4 separate regions of the Homo sapiens genome follow, and regions 1, 3 and 4 are each linked to region 2. Evidence: promoter capture Hi-C in 16 types of primary human blood cells and fetal thymus (Javierre and others, 2016). All regions are on one chromosome and are shown on one strand. Each heading gives the region's core, a stretch centred on a gene start or on the middle of the fragment in contact. The rest is flanking DNA. Distances are from core to core; before and after follow the strand shown.

Region 1 (3,332 bases), core at 148-2,647, 630 kb after region 2:
TTCCCCCATTCCCTCACCACCTTCAGACCACCCTCCCCCATGGAACTTGTGTTCACATCACTTTGATACATTTGCCTTGTGAGAGTTTAAGCCTTGTGTTTCCCTGCATGAAATAACCTCCTTGCAGAACAGAACAGTGTCTGCTGCCTCTTCCCAGGGTAGGTGGTCAAGTGGAAGAAAGTGCTAGCTCAGCAGGGTGGAGGGTAACTAGGAGGTGGCAATTGGGTCTATAAGGAGGAGCTTATAGGATAGTAATAAAGAAATAGCATGTAAAAATCCGCCATTATGCAAAACAGAAGCTTGCAAATCCAATTCCTAGGGAGCTAGCCATGCAAACAGAGCCCTGCCTACTGACGCCCACTTGCTTTCCCCAACTCTCAACCCAGGGCTCCTTTCCCTGCCAATGATGGTGGCAGTGGTAGTGATTAGGATTGGGAACCATGGTGATCATGATGGGTTTCTTTTTTGTTTTTTTGTTTTTGAGACAGAGTCTCACTCTGTCACCCAGTCTGGAGTGCATGTAGTGGCACTACCTCAGCTCACTGCAACCTTCGCTTCCCGGGTTCAAGCAATTCTCCTGTCTCAGCCTCCCAAGTAGCTGGGACTACAGGCATGTACCACCACTCTCTGCTAAGTTTTTGTATTTTTAGTAGAGACAGGGTTTCACCATGTTGACCAGGCTGGTCCCAAACTGCTGGCCCCAAGTGATCTGCTCGCCTCAGCCTCCCAAAGTGCTGGGATTACAGGTGTGAGCCACCATGCCCAGCCATGGCTTTCATTTTCAGGGTTCCTACCAAGTGTCAAAGTGTCAGATCTCTTACATATATTATATATTATTTTATTTTATTTTAGTCTATTTTATTTTGAGATGGAGTCTTGCTCTGTTGCCCAGGCTGGAGTGCAGTGGCACGATCTTGACTCACTGCAACCTCCACCTCCTGGGTTCTCAAGCTATTCTCCTGCCTCAGCCTCCCAAGTAGCTGGGACTAAAGACCTGCACCACCATGCCCGGATAATTTTAGTATTTTTAGTGAGACAGGGTTTCACCATGTAGGCCAGGCTAGTCTTGAACTCCTGACCTCAGGGGATCTGCCTGCCTTGGCCTCCCAAGGTGCTGGGATTACAGGCGTGAGCCACCGCACCTATTATTTATAATCCTAAACTAATCCATGAGGAAGGTAACATTGTTCTCATTTTACAGACAAGGAAACTAAAGCCCAAGGTCCTTTGGTTAGTGTGACAGAGACAGGAATTGAACCCAAGTCTGGAGTAATTTTAGAGCTTGAACATTCTCTTTTCAATTATGCTGTTTTATAGTCAGGATCCAATTATGTCCATTAAGAGATGTAATAATGTCAATAACTCAAAAGGGAGGATTCAAAACATGTTTATTATTTTATTTAGCAATCCAAAAGAGCTATATTACATTTATTTATTGAGCATCTGTACTACCTCTCCTACAGTAGGGATTCTGGCAGACTTGGGGGACCTCTCCCCATCAAAATGGACAGCCCCAGCCCAGGCACGGTGGCTCACGCCTGTAATCCCAGCACTTTGGGAGGCCAAGGCAGGCAGATCACCTGAGGTCAAGAGTTTGAGACCAGCCTGACCAACATGGAGAAACCCCATCTCTACTAAAAATACAAAATTAGCCAGGCATGGTGGCACATGCCTGTAATCCCAGCTACTTAAGAGGCTGAGGCAGGCGAATTGATTGAACCCAGGGGGCAGAGGTTGGGGTGAGCTGAGATTGTGCCATTGCACTCCAGCCTGGGCAACAAGAGCGAAACTCCATCTGAAAAAAAATTAAAAATGGACAGCCCCATGAGGGCAGAGACCTTGACTATGTTGTTGACCGTCACATCCACAGCATTAGAAAGACATCTAACAGGCACTCCACCAGTATATGATGAACGAATTCACAAATGGCTGAACCAGCCTGCCAGGTAAGCCTGTGCCCAGCCAGGCACAGTGGCTCACACCTGTAATCCCAGTACTTTGGAAGGCCAAGGGAAGATCACTTGAGGCCAGGAGTTCAAGACCAGCCTGGACAACCAGCGACATAGCAAGACCCTGCATGTGTGCATATATGTCTGTAAGACAGAAAATGAGACAGAGAGACTCTAGAGAGCACGCAGCTCAGCTAAAGAAAAGACCTGCTACCCACCACTCTGTAACCAACCTGCCCCCACCCCATTCCCTGGTCTCTAAGGACTAAGATAACCCCAACTCAGATACAATGACCCATTCATAGGCCTTTAGGAAAATCTGTTGACCTGGATGGTGGGAATGGGCTAAGCCCAGGCCAGCCCAGGCCAGCTTAGCCTCAGGGACCTGTTAGTCAAGTTCCCATGGCAACACAACTAATTGTGTGTTTATGCATTCCCTACAGAACTCCAGGCAGAGGCCATCTATTCCCCAAGGCCACATTCTACCTTCTCTCTCCTTCCTTGCCTCCCCAAGTTTCCTGGGTGACCATCCAGGGAACATTAAGAGAAGCTTAAGTAGCAACAGCAGCCTCCAGAACATGGAAGGCAAAGGAGGGAAAGCCTCTCTGAGGGAGAGGACCAGTACTTCTTGCTCACAATTGTCCAGCTGCAAAAGTCAAACTCCCTAGTCCTCCTCCTGGACCCACAGTTCTATGGCTTCGATGGCTCCCACATGTCACCACACTAAACCTCCACCCCCAGGCCCCCATGGCCTGACCCTATCCTACTTGACTGCCAGCTCCTGCACAAACTCCCTCTTCACTTATGCAGTGCACAGGCCCAGGGCCCCTCCTTCCTCTCTCTTTGTGTCCCTCTAGCCTGGCTCTACCCCCAAGGACTTCCTTCAGGAAGCCCTCCCAGATGGACTATTCCTCCCAGGCTTCTCCCTCCAGCCCTCCAGCCTGGAGCCTCTGATTGTGCATCCCCAGCTGTGGCCGGATCTCCCAGAGCTGGGCATGGGTTCAGCTATTCCCCCATGGCCTAGCAGTTTCCTTAAGGTGGTAAAGCTTTTAATTCTTACAGAAACTATAAAATAAGCATTATCTGCATTCTAGAGTGGAGAACACTGAGCCTCAGGATTAAAAGCAATGTGCACTGCTTGGCACAGTGGCTCACACCTGTAATCCCAGCACTTTGGAAGGCCAAAGTGGGAGGATGGCTTGAGGCTAGGAATTCAAGACCAGCCTGGACAACACAGCAAGACCCTGTCTATACCCCTCTCCCCCACAAAAAAATTGTTCTAATTATCCAGGCAGAGTGGTGCACACCTGTATTTCCAGCTACTTGGGAGGCTAAGCAAGAGGATAACTGGAGCCCAAGAGTTTGAGGCTGTAGTGTACCATA
Region 2 (3,337 bases), core at 531-3,030:
TGCTACAAGTATAGGGGCTGAGGGTCAGGAGAGAAGGCCTGGACCCTGCAGAGGCTTCCTCCCCACCCAGCGCAGGGGAGAGCTGCTGGGTGATGTGGTTCAGGGAGAGAAGGCTGAAGTGGGACAGAGACAGGTCATGGGAGTCACAGCCCTCCTCTTACACAGGTGTCTGGGCAAAGATTCCACAAAGGAAAAGACCCCGCCACCCTCGGTCAATCTAGTGGTCATGGCCACTCACCCTACCTGGGAGTTCTTATTGTCTAATCCAGTGTATTTAACCTAAACCCCATTCCTGTGCCCAGCATCCCTCTTGCCCGCACTCACTTCTTCTTGTAGCCCTCCAGCACCTCCTGCACGTGGTTAAGCTCTGAGGCCAGCCTCCCGCTGTCGGCCTCCACGCACTCGGCCTCCCGCCGCAGAGTCTCGATGTAGCCCTCAAACAGGGGCTCCAGGTTGCTCTGGCAACACTCGCGGTTCTGGTAGAACTGCAGCTTTGTCTCCAGCAGTTTGTTCTGCTGCTCCAGGAAGCGCACCTGCCATTCGGTGTGGGAAGGTGGGGCAGATGGTGTCTGGTGCCCCAAAGCCAGCTCTGGGGGCTCGCAGGGGAGGTGCTTTAATGGGAACCCCCAAATCTGGAGCTTATCTGAGATTGAGTAGAGGTGGGCAGTGGGAGACAGACAATTTCTGGATTTCCTGGTCATGATCTGTGTCTAGATTTCCCACTCAGGAGTGGAGCAAGGGCTGGGTGGTGTCAGTGCCTGCTCCCTGGGGAGTTGAGTGACCCCCCCCCCCCAACCCAAGCAGATGAACAGAAGTGGAGGCTCAGTCCCTCACTATGAAACTAGGTGATCAGCAACCCACACAGGCAGAGTACTCAGGTTCAGATCACAGATGAGGTTTCTGGGGATGGTGCCAGGAAGAGGGTGTCACAGGCCATCTGGAAGGGAGCTCAGCTGTCCCAGCCCTTCCCCTGTGTCATCTGGAAGTCAGTGCACCCTACTCTCTCACCCTGGGGCTGCCCAAACCCCTCTGAGTTCAGCAGCAGTGGTCACATGCCCCCCTCCCCCAACTCCCTGATGTCTAGCTTGTGCCCCAGAGCAGCCTGGCCACACTTTTCCTTCACAAGCTCCCTCTATCTGAACTGTCAGCTGAGTCTGCATCTTGAGTGCCTGTGTGTGTGTGTCTGTGCATGTGTCTGTCTGTCTGTGTGTCTGTGTGCCTCGCCCATCAGACTGGGATCTCAGGCAGGCAGAGGTCTTTGTGCCTCTGACTCCATCCTTAGTGCCCGGCCCTGGCTGTGTAGGTGGTGGGGGTTCAGGAAGGGTGTGATCCAGGACACCCACCTTGTCGATGAAGGCCGCGAACCTGCTGTTGAGGGACTTGATCTGCTCCTTCTCCTCCTGCTTCACGCACTGCGCGTTGGGGTCGATCTCCAGGTTGAGGGGCGTGAGGAGGCTCTCGTTGACCGACACGGTGGTGATGCATGGGGGACTGGGCCCGCACACGCCCCCGGAGCGGTAGCCGAAGCTGCGTCCGCAGGAGCCGGCCCGAAAGCCTCCGCACACGCTGTGGCTGCCGAAGCCCCCGGTGAGGCCGCGGTAGCAGGAGATGCCACGGTAGGGGGCGGCGGTGATGCAGCAGCGGCCGGGCCGCGGCCCGCAGGCCGAGATGCAGCTGAAGGCGCGCCCACCAAATCCTGATCCGCAGGTCATGATCCTCCTGGACGTTTGGGTTGCAGAGGACAGGATAGGGGACCTGGAGTCCTGATGGAAACTCCAATGTGCTCCTCAGGGCACCGCAGCCCTATTTATGCGCAGATTCTGAAGGGGCTTGGCTGTGAAGATGATGTTGGGGCAATTTGCGCTTTATGGGCTTGGGTGGTTAGCCGGGTCTAACGCCTCTCCAGAATGTGCTTTAATGGGGGAGTGGCCTGCACCCTCTTCTTTGTAAAAGATGTCAGTCTTGGGCTCTGGGGGAGTCAGCATGTTTCATCTTCAAAGTGTCTTGCCAGCAGGGCATTCCTTCATCTGCAGGCATTGGGGAGGGAAGGGGAAGGCAGAGGAGAGGACGAGAAGGAGGAGTAGAGCCTGGCGAGGGGAAGAGAAGGGAGGCCAGGTGCTGGGAGAAACTGGGAGGAGGAGACCTGTGTGTTAAGTGTGATGTGGGGAGAGGGGTTTCAGGAAAGGCTGAGGCATTAATAAATACCATCTCTCATTTCCATCACAGCTGTGGCTAAAGTGCTCCTGAAACACAAATCTGGATTTCCCCATCTCCAGATTTTTCAGTTGGCAGCTGAAAACCATCTCACTTTTCCTACCATGGGAACAGTCAGCAGATTATTAAATATTTGTCTTTTATCTTTTTTATGATGAAAGCTTTCAAATATTGAGGAAAATTGGAATAATACAACACACATGCATTGATGCTCCACCTGTTTACCCCGATTCAACAGTTAACATTATACCATATTTGCTTTCACAGTTGCCCAATTATTTGAGTGGCAGAAAGCATGGCATGTCACCCTTAAATACATCAGCAGGAATTTCTTAAGAATAAGGAGAGTACTATTTTCTTATTCAGGAAAATTAACAATAATTCCAAAGCACCACTTACTATTCATCTCAGATTCAATTTTCCTAACTGTCCTAAGGATTTTAAAACTACATTTTACATAATTTAATTTGTGGCTCTAGCCCTTGTATTTTCTATAAATTAGAAAGTAAATCTTGAGCTGGGATGTCCAATTTGGTAGACAATAGGCAGATGTGGCTACTTAAATTTAAGTTAGTAAAAACTAAATAAGTTAAAAATCTAGTTATTCAGTTGCACTATCCACATTTTGAGTCCTCAGCAGCTACCTGTAAGTAGTGCCTACCTTATTAGACAGTGCATATAAAGAACACTTCTTTATTATTTATTTTTATTTTATTTATTGTTTATTTTCACATAAAATTCTGTTGGACAGCACTGGGCTAGAGGCTGGATTAGGTTTAAATTAAACATTGTTGGGACAGAATACTTCATAAAATATGCTGTGTAACTCTTATTATATCACCCCAGGAAGCATAAAATGTCAGATTGGTGATGCTAAATTGAATCACAGCTGGGCGCAGTGGCTCATACCTGTAATCCCAGCACTTTGGGAGTCTGAGGGGGGTGGATCACCTGAGGTCAGGAGTTCAAGACCAGCCTCAGTGGAGGAGTTTAAGACCAGAGATGGTGAAACCCCGTCTCTACTACAAATACAAAAATTAGCCCGTTATGGTGGCACGTGCCTGTATTCCCAGCTACATGGGAGGCTAAGGCAGGAGAATTGCTTGAACCCAGGAGATGGAGG
Region 3 (3,128 bases), core at 206-2,705, 600 kb after region 2:
TGTATGGGGAAAGGCTGATATTAATAAAATACCTCTGCAGATGAATGAGTGACTGTAATTTACAAGGAGAAAATACAGGGTGCCTTGGGAACTTATCATAGAAACACGCCACTCAGTTTGTGGTGTCTAGAAGACTTTCTTGTCTTGTGGTGTCATAAAACTTTTTGTCTTGTCTTGTGGTGTCAGAAGACTTTCTTGGGGAAGCTGCGTTTGAGCGGAAAGCTTGGGAGTGACTAGGAAAGGCAGGGTGTTCCAAGCAGGGGGCCAGCCATGCAATGCCCTGAGCAGAAGCAAATTCCATGTAGGCTATGCCCTGAAAAGCCTGCACCACTGCATCAGAGAGCAAGGGACAGAGTGGCCAGGATGAGGCCTCAGAGGAGGAAGAGTAGGCACAGCCTGTGGGCCAAGTCAAGATTTAGGGCTTTATTCTGGGTGTCAAAAGTAAAGGGTTTTCCCATCATTCTGAGCAAACTATTGCAAGGGCAGAAAACCAAACACCGCATGTTCTCACTCATAGGTGGGAATTGAACAATGAGAACACTTAGACACAGGGTGGGGAACATCACACACCAGGGCCTGTCGTGGGGTGGGGGTAGAGGGGAGGGATAGCATTAGGAGATATACCTAATGTAAATGAAGAGTTAACGAGTTAACGGGTGCAGCACACCAACATGGCACATGTATACATATGTAACAAACCTGCATGTTGTGCACATGTACCCTAGAACTTAAAGTATAATAAAAAATAAAGAAAGAAAAGAAAAAAATAAAATAAAAATAAAGGGTTTTCCATATAAGGAAGTAACTGAATCTGATTCATATTTTTGAGAATGCACTCTGATTTTGGGGGCAGTGAACTATTCTGTATGGTACTGTAATGGTGGCTACATGGCCCCCACAGAATGTCCACACTAAGAGTTAACTCTAATGTGAACTATGGACTGTGGGTAATAATGATGTGTCAATGTAGGTTCATCAATCGTAACAAATGTATCCCTCTGAGGTGGGATGTTGATGATGTTGTAACAAATGTAGCCCTCTGGTGTGGGATGCAGGTGTAGGGGCAGAATGTGTATGAGAACCCTCTACCTCCTGCTCGATTTTGCTATGAACCTAAAATTGCTCTTTTTTTCTTTTTTTTTTTTTTTTTTTTTTTTGAGACGGAGTCTTTCTCTGTCGCCCAGGCTGGAGTGCAGTGGCATGATCTCAGTTCACTGCAAGCTCTGCCTCCTGGGTTCACACCATTCTCCTGCCTCAGCCTCTCGAGTAGCTGGGACTACAGGCGCCTGCCACCACACCCAGATAATTTTTTTGTATTTTTTAGTAGAGACGGGGTTTCACCATGTTAGCCAGGATGGTCTCGATCTCCTGACCTCGTGATCCACCCGCCTCAGCCTCCCAAAGTGCTGGGATTACAGGCATGAGCCACAGCGCCTAGCTAAAACTGTTCTTAAAAAATAAGTCTACTAAAAAAAAGTGCACTCTGGCAAGGGGCCCAAGTGAACCTTCTGTGATATAGGAAATGTTCTACATTACAGGTGTGAACATAAGTTAAAACTCATCAGGCGCCGGGCACGGTGGCTCACGCCTGTAATCCCAGCACTTTGGGAGGCTGAGGCGGGTGGATCACCTGAGGTCGGGAGTTGCCTGACCAACACGGAGAAACCCCGTCTCTACTAAAAATACAAAATTAGCCCGGCGTGGTGGCGCATGCCTGTAGTCCCAGCTACTCAGGAGGCTGAGGCGGGAGAATCGCTTGAACCTGGGCAGCGGAGGTTGCAGTGAGCCGAGATCGTGCCATTGCACTTCAGCCTGGGCAACAAGAGTGAAACTCCATCTCAAAAAAAATAAATAAAAATAAAAATAAAAAAACTCATCAGGTTGTACATTCCCCATTAAAGCACATTTTGCATTTTATTGTATGTACAATATGCCTCAGCAAGGAGGAAACAAAGGGACTTGTGATTGGCCAAGGCTGGCCCATTGTGAACCCTGTGTGCCTGGACAGAGGTCCTGTGATCTTAGGAGGAACAGTTCCTGAAAAGAAGTGGGGCGTGGCAGGAGTGGAGGTGGGGGAGCTTTGCATTACTAGAAGAAGGGGGAAGGGGTCCTGGCTAGACAAAGCAACTATGCCCACCACAATGTGTAAAAGGGCAGCGCGGAGAGTGAACTAGGGGGCCACCCACCATGCTGGTATCCTTCCCTGCCTTCCTTTCCTTGCAGTGGTGCTTCCTCTTCCTTTCCCAACAGGTAGAATCTATGATATATAATTACGTAGGGACATGCATGCACACATTTCTATCTATCCTTCATGAAGGGTATGTACTGTCCGCATTGTCACATGCCTTGCTTTAACATTCACTCCTCCATTCCCACCACCTTACACTCCAGTCAGCCTGGCCCTCGGTCCTTAGCCCACCTTCAGATCCCCCTACTACAGGGGAGCTCCTAGACCACCTTAGCCCAGATCAGCGGGCAGGCAGAGCAAAACCTTGGAATTAAAATATCTTCAGAAGAGTCCACAAATGCTTGGAAGACTCATCATTTTAATCCTGGGTGGTTGGGTCGGGAAAGGCAGGGTGGAGGGAAGTGGGGGATAATGGCTGGCTCATCTGGAATAGTCAAACAGGAACCTTCTTCTACACATGTAAATTTTCTAAAAAACTAAAATTCAGTCCCATAGGAAATCAAGCTTTAAAAACAAAAAGTCTACTAAAATTTAAATGTGCACACATTTTGCTTCAGCAATTCCACTTGTAGGAATTATTAAGATATCCTCACCATTGTCATAGCAAATACCAATAGAGGACTGGTTAAGTAAATTGTGGCACATCCCAAAGTGGAATATTATGCAGCTGTGAAAAAGAGTGGAGAAGCAACTTGTATACTGATATGGAAGGAACAGGTATTGGGTGAATGTTAAAGCAAGGCATGTGACAACACATATAGTACAATACCCTTCATGAAGGATAGATAGAAATGTATGCATGTATGTCCCTATGTAACTATATATAATAACTTCTACTTGGAATGAATCACAGGAAACTGGTAGCATTAATTGCCCTCTGGAACAGAAACTGGCTGACTGGGGAAGGGTCCTCTTGTACTTTTGAATTATGTATAAAGGC
Region 4 (3,604 bases), core at 1,104-3,603, 690 kb after region 2:
CTAATTTGCTTCCAGAATTATCTTTAAATCCACATTGTTGCCCTATCACGACTCCCCCCTGAAACACCTGTGATGGCCTCTCATTGTTGAAAGCATAAAATCTGATCTTCCCCCTGCATTCCATCTCCCATATCCACCTCCCTACTCAAGTGCCCCGTCTGCCCTTCACTAAACCTACTGTTCCACCTGAACTAATCTCAAACAACGTTTCCCAAACTGCCTCCTGCCAGGAGTTCTCCCCACCCTTCCATGTCCTGCATCCCACGTTTTCCTCAAGGCTCAGTGCAAATCACGCCTCCTCCCTGAAGCCTTCCCCGTAACTCGGCTGCCACCCTCAGGCTGCCTGCCAATGCTGTCTCCTCCTCTGACACCTCTTATGAGCACCACTCATCAAGATGGTCCCTTTAGTACTTGGCGTGCCTGGCCCCACATGTTGGCTGGCATTGTTTATTTGAATGAACATTGCCTTGGTACAATGATGGAGCCTGCTCTGTCCTCCTAGAAGAGACAGGAGAGAGAAGCCCATAGCAAGGGTCAAAAACTCCCAGCCTGAACCTGGGAGATGTCCATATACTGATGAAATGAGAGGTTCCCCTCTGGGTTCCAATGCACAAGCCCTGTACCAGATGAGGGAGCCATAAGGGATGCAGACAGAGACTCAAAGACAGAGACAAGGGCTGAGGGAGGGGGGATGGAAAGAACTGGGGAGCCAAAGACTGCAGCGGGGAAAGAATGCAGTGTCCATCCTAAAAGAAGGAAAATGGAAGTTTCCCAGGGAGGAGGGTGCCTGATCTTATCTGCTGTTTACATTCCAGAGAGCCCCTGCTTCTGCTTCTCATCTTAATTAGAGAATACTTGAGAAGCCCTGCCGCCGTGCAGAGAGAAAGGAATGCAGGCCCCCACTAAACCCCAGCCTGCCCCCCTCACCCCTGACCTCCTGCTGGCTATGTGGTGGGACTGATGGGAGTCTGGGTTCTGGATCCATTTTCTGTTTTCTGTTTTTTTGTCTACAGTGGGCTGATCCATTAAGCTGGATTCCTTGAGAGAGTATGTGAGAGGGTCTGGGAACTGTCAGGGCTCCACTCCTGCAGGAAACAAACAAACAAACAAACAAACAAAATTAAAAAGTATTAGAAAGAGCCACTGAGAGGAACAGCTGAGATTCTCTCAGTCAGTCTGCCATTCACCCCCTCAAACATCGCCCTCACTCCACCACCATAATGTCCAGGCAGGGTGCTGACACTTCACCGTTCACCTCCCACCCTGCCCCGGGCTGTCCTCCAAATGTGTGTCAGACACAGTGCTGGGGGACTTATACTTCTGTCATAGTCTCTGTCTTCAGTAGCATATGGTAAGAGCCAGGATCCGCTATTAAACATGCTGTGAGTGGGTAGAGACAAAGTCTTGTCTTGTAGGGTGAGCAGGCAGTGAGGTCAGAAAGGGCATCACAGGTAGAGGAAAAAGCATGGGCAGAGGTCTGGAACCCAGTCCCTCTTCATACCACCCGCTGACCCTTTCCCCTCCCCCCCACATGAGATTTCTCCCCCTCTCTTCTCTCTTCTCTCCCTCAACAATTCCAGGGTTGCCCACCTGAAAACAAGCTCCCTGGACCACCTTCCCTTGCAGCTCTCTGTTCCTTCTCTCTTTTTTTTTTTTTTTTTTTTTTGAGACGGAATCTCACTCTGTCACCCAGGCAGGAGTGCAATGGTGTGATCTCAGCTCACTGCAGCCTCTGCCTCCCAGGTTCAAGTGATTCTCCTACCTCAGCCTCACGAGTAGCTGGGATTACAGGTGCCCACCACCACACCCAGCTAATTTTTGTATTTTTACTAGAGATGGTGTTTCACCACATTGGCCAGGCTGGTCTCGAACTCCTGACCTCAGGTGATCCACCCGCCTCAGCCTTCCAAAGTGCTGGGATTACAGGCGTGAGCCACTGCGCCTGGCCAGCTCTCTGTTCCTTCTCATAGCTAAGCATCTTACATCATTCTCTCTCGTTTTGTTGTTGTTTTGTTGTTGTTGTTGTTGTTGTTGTTGTTGTTGTTTGAGACAGAGTTTTGCTCTTGTTGCCCAGGCTGGAGTGCAGTGGCGCGATCTCGGCTCACTGCAACCTCCACTTCCAGGGTTCAAGTGATTCTCCTGCCTCTGCCTCCCAAGTAGCTGGGATTATAGGCATGCGCCACCACACCTGGCTAATTTTGTATTTTTAGTGGAGATGGGGTTTTATCATGTTGGTCAGGCTGGTCTCAAACTCCTGACCTCAGGTGATCCACTTGCCTCGGCTTCCCAAAGTGCTGGGGTTACAGGCTTGAGTCACTGCATCTGGCCTTACATTATTCTCAAAAGAGGTCTACACACAGGCTTTCCCCTTCCTCACCCAGTTCACTCTTCAGCCCCTCCAGGCTGGCTCAGCTCGTATGGCTCCTCAGAAGCTGCACTAGCCAAGGTTCCCAGAGACCTCCATGTTGTTGAAATCGATGGACACTTGACATTCCTTTTGTTCCTTGACCACTTAGCTTCCAGCAGCTGCATGCTCCCTCCTTCTTTTTTTTTTTTTTTTTTTTTTGAGATGGAGTTTCACTCTTGTTGCCCAAGCTGGAGTCCAGTGGCATGATCTTGGCTCACTGCAACCTCCATCTCCCAGGTTCAAGCGATTCTCTTGCCTCAGCCTTCCAAGTAGCTGGGATTATAGGCGTGTGCCACCACACCTGGCTAATTTTTTGTATTTTTAGTAGAGACAGGGTTTCACCATGTTAGCCAGGCTGGTCTCGAACTCCTGACCTCAGGTGATCCACCTGCCTCGGCCTCCCAAAGTGCTGGGATTACAGGCATGAGCCACAGCACCCAGCCTCTCCCTCCTTCTTGAAACACTCTCCTTCCTAGTCTCCCAGACACCTCGTGCCAGGCTTTTCTCTAGTTATAGTTTCTCGGTCCCTTTTCCCCACTCACCCTCCTTGACATGGTCTGTAACTTGATGTTTCTGATCTATAAATTGACCTGATATAAAGTTGATGTTCCTCAGGGCTGGGTCCTGGCCCCTATTCTCTTATTAATAGGGACTATTTTCTTGAGTCATCTCATACCTTGCCCTGGTTTTAATTGCATCTTCTATAGACCAAAGACTTCCAGATTGTGATGTCCAACCAGACCTTTCTTGTGAGCTCCAGAGCAGCCTATGGAATATTCTACTTAATGCCTCTTTTTAGATGACTCTTAGGCATCTCAAATTTAACCTGTTCAAAACTGGATTATTGATCTTAGCTCCCACCAGCTTCATAATTCTTGTTCATCTTAGTAAATGACACACCATCCATCTAATTGCTTGTGCCAGAAACCTGGGAATCATATTTGACACCTCCTTCTCTCTTGGTCTACCCTATGGATCTAATAAATTAATAACCCTACTTCCACAGTAAGTCCAAATCTATTCCTTTCTCCCCATCCACACCCCACATCCAGGCTGTAGGCATCTGTCCTCTGTACTATCACTGCAACATCTTCCTAACAGAAAGTCTTCTCATGGCCACCAGTAACCACTCAGCCTTCCTCCACACACCAGCCAACATGGTCTTCTTTAAAAATAAATCTCAGCCGGGCTTGGTGG

What was found. The method cuts DNA at HindIII sites, captures the fragments that hold promoters and counts their contacts. A CHiCAGO score of 5 or more calls a contact.
Region 1: a contact is called between a fragment that was not itself captured here and the fragment with the promoter of KRT81 in region 2, in 2 of 17 cell types (M2 macrophages and M1 macrophages). The highest score is 6.0, in M2 macrophages.
Region 3: a contact is called between a fragment that was not itself captured here and the fragment with the promoter of KRT81 in region 2, in 4 of 17 cell types (M2 macrophages, M1 macrophages, total CD4 T cells and 1 more). The highest score is 7.2, in M2 macrophages.
Region 4: a fragment that was not itself captured here is called in contact with the fragment with the promoter of KRT81 in region 2 in 1 of 17 cell types (M0 macrophages); the score reaches 5.4 in M0 macrophages.

The regions. Positions count from the first base shown.
Region 1 is chr12:52,918,800-52,922,131 of GRCh38, forward strand. It overlaps a transcript of KRT8 not described here. Among named protein-coding and RNA genes, the nearest start is that of KRT8, 15 kb to the left of the region's middle. RefSeq lists an enhancer at 1-241. The HindIII fragment of the contact is 2,200 bases long and covers 298-2,497 here.
Region 2 is chr12:52,289,754-52,293,090 of GRCh38, forward strand. It overlaps KRT81 (keratin 81), which reads right to left and starts at 1,781. Exons shown (of 9, transcript NM_002281.4): 1 at 1,344-1,781; 2 at 325-533. The coding sequence starts at 1,712. All of the region lies in intron 2 of KRT86 (keratin 86), which reads left to right. The HindIII fragment of the contact is 6,626 bases long and covers 1-2,373 here.
Region 3 is chr12:52,890,309-52,893,436 of GRCh38, forward strand. No RefSeq gene overlaps it. Among named protein-coding and RNA genes, the nearest start is that of MIR9898, 7.1 kb to the right of the region's middle. The HindIII fragment of the contact is 2,470 bases long and covers 221-2,690 here.
Region 4 is chr12:52,976,106-52,979,709 of GRCh38, forward strand. No RefSeq gene overlaps it. Among named protein-coding and RNA genes, the nearest start is that of EIF4B, 29 kb to the right of the region's middle. The HindIII fragment of the contact is 5,548 bases long and covers 1-3,604 here.